2 separate regions of the Homo sapiens genome follow, and region 2 is linked to region 1. The links are contacts of gene promoters, found by promoter capture Hi-C in human tissues and cell types (Jung and others, 2019). All regions are on one chromosome and are shown on one strand. The core of a region is centred on a gene start or on the middle of the fragment in contact, and the rest is flanking DNA. Distances in the headings are between cores, read along the strand shown.

What was found. Contacts are between HindIII fragments. The study calls those that stand out against the background at their distance.
Region 2: a fragment that was not itself captured here is called in contact with the fragment with the promoter of C2CD2 in region 1 in 1 of the 25 tissues and cell types used here (spleen).

Annotation. Positions count from the first base shown.
Region 1 is chr21:41,951,974-41,955,722 of GRCh38, reverse strand. It overlaps C2CD2 (C2 calcium dependent domain containing 2), which reads left to right and starts at 1,705. Exons shown (of 14, transcript NM_015500.2): 1 at 1,705-2,353. The coding sequence starts at 2,075. RefSeq lists a silencer at 1,413-2,082 and an enhancer at 1,959-2,733. The HindIII fragment of the contact is 14,094 bases long and covers 1-3,749 here.
Region 2 is chr21:41,750,985-41,754,733 of GRCh38, reverse strand. It overlaps RIPK4 (receptor interacting serine/threonine kinase 4), which reads left to right. Exons shown (of 8, transcript NM_020639.3): 3 at 3,489-3,637. Among named protein-coding and RNA genes, the nearest start is that of MIR6814, 6.0 kb to the right of the region's middle. RefSeq lists an enhancer at 1,102-1,893. The HindIII fragment of the contact is 5,083 bases long and covers 1-3,749 here.

The sequences.
Region 1 (3,749 bases), core at 456-2,955:
ACAAAGGCTCTCCGTCCAGCTGCTGTGCCATTCCTTCCTCTTTCCTGAAGAAAATCCGGGCCCACGGATTCAGGGCCAGAATCCCCTCTGATGGACCATCCACTGGCCCCGCAGCAGACTCCTGGCTAGGGAAGAGAAGGCCAAATGCTCAGTCTATCTAATTCCTTTCAAGGTCAAGTCCCCTTAATACAGCTGCAGAAAATAACAGGGGAATCACTTTTTTATGGTTTAGGCCTGTTTTAGGCCCCGGAGAATCTCAGGCTAGTATGTTTCTATGGCACTCCCTAAGGACCGCGTCCACTCTGCAAGAGGAGGGCACAGGGGCATGTCCCACACACCACACCACACACACACACACCATACCACATGCACCACACTGACACACCACCCACACACCACGCCACATGCACCGCACTCACACATTACACATACACACACTCCACATCCATGTACCACACATACACACACCACCGTGTTCACCACACACACAAACCACACCACATGCAACGCACTTACACAATACATATACACACAGCACCACACCACACCCATGTGCCACACACACACGCTCACATCACCCTGTGCACCACACACACACGCACCACACTGACACACCACATACATACACCACACCACATCACACATACACACCACACACACCACATGCACCACACACACACACCACATGCTGTGCACTTACACATCACACGTACACACACCCATGCACCACACCGACACCACACACGCACCACACCACATGCACCACGCTTACACATCACACACACACACCACACACACACACCACACACACTGCACTTATACATCACACATACACACCCATGCACCACCATACACACTCGCACCATCCTGTGCACCACACACCACACACATACACCACATGCTGTGCACTTACACATCACACGTACACACACCCATGCACCACACCGACACACCACACACGCACCACACCACATGCACCACGCTTACACATCACACACACCACATGCACCACACTGGCACGCAACACACATACCACACCACATGCACCACGCTTACACACACACCACACCCATGCACCACACATACACACTCACACCATCCTGTGCACCACACACCACACCCACAACACATCACACCACATGCGCCACACACATCACACCACATGCACCCCCGCCCCACCCGCACACTGAATGAATGACACAGCCACACAGAAGGCAGGGCCTGGGCCTGGTGCTGAGCCCCTCCTTGCCTCTGAGAAGCACGCCCCCTAAGGCAGGCCCAGCCCCTGGCTCCAGGGGCAGCCACGGATTTCCAGGGACTTTCCGAGGACTGAGCCTGGATCCTGTCTCGCTGGCGAGCAAATGGCAGTCCTCGAAATCACCCTGACTGCGCGCTGTGCACACGCACACTCACACATGTGCACACACACGCACTTGTGCAAGCGCGCACACGAGCCAAGCCAAGCAGCCGCACAGCAGCCGCCGGGGTTGGGCTGATGAATCCGGAGGCCCGGGTCACCTCGCGGCCCGCGGGCAGGCGCCGGAGGGGCGGGCGACGCGCGCACGTGGCGGGGCCGGGAAGGCCGGGCCTTTAGGGGGGCGGGGGCACGCCGCGTTGGGAGCAGGGGGGAGGACTGCGGCCCCCGCAGGCCCGGCCGCGCCCCCTCCCTCGGGCACCGCCCCCGCCCCGCCCCGCCCCGCGGCCAGAGCCTCCTCCGGCCACCGCTGGGCCGCGGGCGGGACGCCCGGGGCGGCGCGCGCAGGAGGAAGCGCGGCCCGCAGCGGCCCAGGAACTTCCCAGACGCCGAGTCGGGAGCGCGGGCCGCGGGGTCCGCTCGCGCCCCTGTTCCGCAGGTGTGCGGGGCTTGCGCCCAGCCCGGGCCGCGGCCGCCGCGCGTTTCCTCCCCGCTTGCCCGCCCAGAGGCCCCCGGCCACGCTCCTCGCCGGGCTCCGACCCCGCCGCGCCCCCTCCACGCCCCCAGCGCGCTGTGGCCGCAGCCAGCGCGTGTCCTGAGTCCGCCGTTCCGGCCCGGGGCTGCCGGGGAAGTTGGGGCGAGGCGGGCCGGGGATGCGCCATGGCCATGGCCCGGCTGGGCTCGTGGCTCGGGGAGGCGCAGTGGCTCGCGCTGGTGTCGCTCTTCGTCGCGGCCCTGGCCACGGTAGGCCTGTACCTGGCGCAGTGGGCGCTGGCCAGGGCGCGACCCCAGCCCCAGCGGCGGGCGGTGGAGCCTGGAGAGGGGCCGCGCCCGGGGTCCGACGCGCTGCTCTCCTGGATCCTGACGCTGGGCAGCTGGAGGAGCCAGTGGCAGGCGGCCTGGGTGACCGCCCTGAACGAGGAGGCCGAGAGGAAAGGGGTGAGTTTCCGGGACTGCGGGCCGGGGGGCGGCAGATGCCGGGGCGGGCGGTCCGGGCCGAGGTCTTTCCTGGAGGCGTCGCTGCAGCCCCTGACCCAGGCTAAGGGAGTCCTCCCCCCAGCGCAGACCATCCTCGAGAGTTAGGAGAGAGACGGGGGAGCGAGGCCCCTTGACGGAGAGACAAGACAAAGTGATTGATTTTATTCTCCAAACGGCAGGTGCTCCAGGCCCTGGGCTCCGCGAGGGACAGGCTGGCAGTTGGAGGGACCGTCAGAAGTGCTCATCCGCGCCAGCCAGTACCTGCCTTGCCTGGAGTCCCGGGGCGAATTCCCGTGCCCGATCGGACACTTACTGAGCTTGCACATGATACATGAATAGCTGTGACCCCAATGTGCTTCCGCCTCTCATAGAGCTGAATTTCACCAAGAATTTATCTCCAAAGACTTGCATTTCTTGGCATATAAAAATAGTGACCGTTTGCTGAGGGCCAGCCGCTGGGCAGACATCCTACCGAGGCTTTCGGTGCGTCTGCCATCTCTGAATCCTCACAACTCCCGGGACAGGGGTGTTATCACTGTTTTACAGATGAGGAAACCAAGGCCCGGAGAGGGCAAGCAGCCTGCCCAGTGCCACACAGCTCGTGGGCGGCAGAGCTGGCATGTGAATCCAGCTGCCCTGGCCTGCAAGCTAAGGGCCTCGTGTCTTACCTCTGCTGCCTCACAGTCCTGTGGGTGTTTCTGTAGTCGCTGATTACTCGTTGACTTATTTTTGCTTTTAAGACATCTTAGTATAACGACAAGCTCCTGGCATGTACTATTCTTAGGCATTTCACAGGAGAAGTTGGAGCCTGGGTGGGTTTGGGGAGGCACCCCTAGTCTTGGCCGCTGCTCCGCCCTTCCAGGCCACAGTTTCCTGCACATGCCTGTGCAGCTCAGTGGTCATTCGCTGTGGAAATAGCAGAATTGCTCATTTTCAATGTCCGGCCCCATCAACCTTCAAAATATTCCATGGCGGGCCCTGTGCCTGGTCCTTGTGCATGGCCTTGGAAGACATGGCCATGGAATTAAAAAACAAAAAAGCTTTGACTATCAGTTAGCAGCCATCCAACAAATCAAGAGACCTTGTTTTGAACTCTTGAAAAAGAACATAAATGACTGTACTTTTTGGAGGAAAAAGGCTTCAGGGTCAGTTGACTGACTTTTGTCCTGGTGCCCAGAATCTGTGCCTCAGCTGTCCAGAGCTGGAGAGTGTCTCAGGGAAACCAGCTGTCTCTTGTGGGAGCCCTCCACCCCTGTTGGCCTCACATCCAGGAGCAAATGCAGGTATTTCCCCAGGAAGCTGCCATCACTGACCCCTGACTGACCTGGAATCAAGGCTTCTGAGGCTGAGTCCCCTC
Region 2 (3,749 bases), core at 749-3,248, 200 kb after region 1:
GGTGGGAGTGCTCCTGGGGCTGGGCCTTCACACAGGGTGGGGCTTTTCTGCCCTCAGGAGTCGGGGCAGGCAGCAGCAGAGCCTTTAGGTGAAGGAAACAGCCCAAGAGACGCAGAGAGCTCTGGGCCTTCCTGCAGGGGCAGCAGGCAGCAGGGCTTCCCTGTCTTTCAGGACAGCTGCAGGGGGCGGATGCTGCCTGGAACTGCTTTCTCAGGGAGGCTGCTGTCGAAGGCACGCTGGGTGCTGGCCAGGAAGTGACAGGACATCTCTGTGTGGTGCCCCTGGGACATCTTAGGGCCCTGTGTACCCTGACAGGCCGCAGGAAAGATTGCTTTTGTGTGGCGTCCTTCTTAATCAGGCATGTTAGTCACCATCAAGAAGCCCAAAAACAAACCGAAAAATACCTTTACGTGACATACTTATTTTTTCTGTGAAATAGCTACTGGTGTGCGTAGAGTGCAGCAGGGAGTGTGTGTCGGGGTTCTGAGAGTCAGCGCCTTTGTTCCTGAAGACGAAGTGTGGAAGCTTTGCATGGACTGACCACTGGGCTTCTGGGCAGTCCTCAGTAGACAGTTATTCAATGCAGGAAAACTGTAATCCAGAATCCTGCAATTAGATCCTAAGTTGCCATTCCAGTGCTGCCATTCGCCTCTGAGATGGGCTCCCTCAGTGCTCAGGGCTCGATTCAAACTGGAAATATCACAGCAACTGTCTACTTCATGAAGCAGTTAAATGTAAATAGTATACAAAGTAATAGTATCAAATTAATGCTTGATATTATTCAACATTACATATACTAAATACCAATATTAAGATACTAGTTGGAATCAATTTCAACTTAAAAATGAAATAACTTGGTTTAAAATCTCAGGCTGCATTTATATGTCCAGTTAGCCCAAAACAGACGCTTTTCAAAGGGTCACACGCGGGTCACGTTCTGCTGTGTCTTTCTTTTAGAGGCAGCAAAACCCCGGCAGGCTGCTTTCTTAGTCTTGACAGCTGGACCTTGAAGTTGAAGGGCCATGTGCTTGGGGGCAGCTGTGAGCCCTCAGCTCTTGGAGATGCAGAGTCGGGTGCTGATGAGAGTGTTTGTAACTCTTGAAGCATTTGCTGGTCAGAGTGGATGCCACAGTAGCTCGCTGTTGAGGACACGGGGTGAGGGGCAGCTTGGGTGGGAAGATGAGGAAAGGCGGAGGGGAAATGCAGCCGGCCAGGAGTCCGAGACATGGAGGGAGGAGAACATAGAGGGTCAGTGACCCTCCTAGAATTCTCAATTCCGAGCTTGCATTTTGTTGCCAGAGGTTTTACAGAGAATTTCTGCTCGTTTTCTTTTCACCAAGTATAGTTTGGAGTGGCTGGCTCTATCTGACAAAGACAGGAGGAGAAAAGGCTGCAGGCCTGGGGAAGCACCAGGCTGAGATCTCTGCACCCCTGTCGTTTTTCTTTTCTTTTCTTTTCTTTCTTAATGATCTCAGATGTCATTTAATTTTCACAACAAAGCTACAGGATGGGTACTGCTATTGCCTCCTTTTATGAAAAAAGGAAACAGGCACAGAGAGGCTAATAGTCCAGGGCCACGGAGCTACTAACTTGTACAGGCAAGATTAGAACAGTGAGTCTGATCCTTAACTAACCGTGGGAGGGAGATATTTTTTTCCTACATTCAACCATACAGGGGGAGGAGGAATTGCCTAGAAAGTATGTGATGCTTTCTTTATTTTTATTATTATTTTTTATTTTACTTTTAGTTCCGGGATACATGTGCAGAATGTGCCAGTTTGTTACATAGGTTTATATGTGCCATGGTGGTTTGCTGCACCCATCCACCATCTAGGTTATCACCTAGGTTTTAAGACCCGCATGCATTAGGTGTTTGTCCTAATGCTCTCCCTTCCCTCTTCCCCTACGCACCGACAGGGCCCGGCGTGTGATGTTCCCCTCCCTCTGTCCATGTGTTCTCATTGTTCAGCCCATTTCTGAATTTGAAGGCTTTCAAGCCACTGATGACTGTTGAACTGAAACTTCCTGTGCTCTGGAGCTATTTGGAGAGTTAGGACCCGTTGTTGTGTCCCAGCGTCCAGCAGCCGCCGGGGTTTGCAGGGTCGGGTGATGGCGTTCCTCTGGGGAGCTGGCGCTTTCCCTGGAGTGCAGAGTGTGGCTCTCAAGGGCGGTGCAGGCCTGAAGGCCCTGGGAGAAATGGAAGTGGGAGGACATGAGAGCCGCTGGAGTCGAGGCCTTGTCCTGGTGCTCCTGGCTGCAGAGAAGGAGGGCCGGTCCCTGCTCGCAGGCCTTCCCCCCTACCTCCCTGCAGATGTGCTCAGGATCCCTGGAAGCCCGAGTCACAGGTCATAAATTCTCCCAGCTGTTTGGTGCTGATGACAGCAGCCCTATTGGCTCACCACATGGGCATGGCCAGCCCAGAATTAAGGCCTGACTCAGCCTCATTTCCTGTCACTCCATGGGTGTGTTTGAGAGGAGCTCAAGAGTTAATGAAAAGGGTTTTTAAAAAAATCCATATGCCTTGAAGGAAAGTTGAGAGCAGCACTCCCCCTGGATCAAGAGTCCCATTAATGCTGATGACTTGTGTCTTCATCCCACATACGGTTTTCAGCAGCTTCAAAGGGGACTGAGTTACACTGGAGAGGGTAGGACACTGGCAGGAAAGGGGATGCCCCCGAGAGAGGTCAGACCGGGGGTCTGTGAAGTCTCCCCAGTGAGCTCCAAGGTCACCTTTGCCCGAAGGAGACCTGAGACCTGCCTCCCCTGAATGCGGACGTTGAGGGCATTCCTGGAGGAGCTGGGTGGCCGGTGCTCCTTGGGGCCCGGGCGCTGCCAGCAGAGGTGTTTATCAGACCTTCACTCGAACACATGTGTTTGAAGCAGCCAGCCAGTGTCTGCTGATCACAAAACACTCCAGATGGACGGGGCTCTGAGGCGTGTGTTTTGTTTGCTTTAAAGTTTAAAGGGCTTCTGAAGGTGTGTTTCTGTGTTTCCCTTTAAAGGACTTGCAGCCACTTGCCCGCCAGCCTCCCCAGCTGGCAGGTTGCATAACCTGCTCCCCGACTTCTCTAGGAGCAGACCTGGTCTTCACATGTGTCTCTCTTTACCTGAACCCTCGAAGGCTTGTTTTTTTCCCTTTATGCCGGCTCAGCCGGCTCTCAACCACCATGGCAAACATGATGCTTTACAGAAGGTGGATTCTAATTCTTCTGCAGTTCTGTCCCGGATAACTCCTTCCTTACAGTACGATTCTTTCACCTGCCCGTCAAATGTGCTGCTCCTAATGCCTCCAGGCTTGCTTCTGCCCCAGAATCTGTCTCCCTCCCTGCCTGGGGCAGGGCTACCTGGAGAGGCACAGACACGGCTCTTAGGGGCTCCTGGAAAGCTCTCACCCACCCTCTGAGATTGCAGAAGGGAGCTTTTGATAAAGCATCATAAAATATCACTGTTGCAGGCTAATGAGCCCCGCTCTGATGGCTGTGTTGCAGATTTCTGATTTTGGTCTGGCCAAGTGCAACGGGCTGTCCCACTCGCATGACCTCAGCATGGATGGCCTGTTTGGCACAATCGCCTACCTCCCTCCAGAGCGCATCAGGGAGAAGAGCCGGCTCTTCGACACCAAGCACGATGTATACAGGTGTGTGACATGCCGCCCCCCATCCCCTGTGGGTGCCAGGGGCTCTCAACCTCAATGCTTCATGCCCTGAGCTGCAGCTTTCAGAAAGGCCTCTTGCTGCCAGTCAGAAATG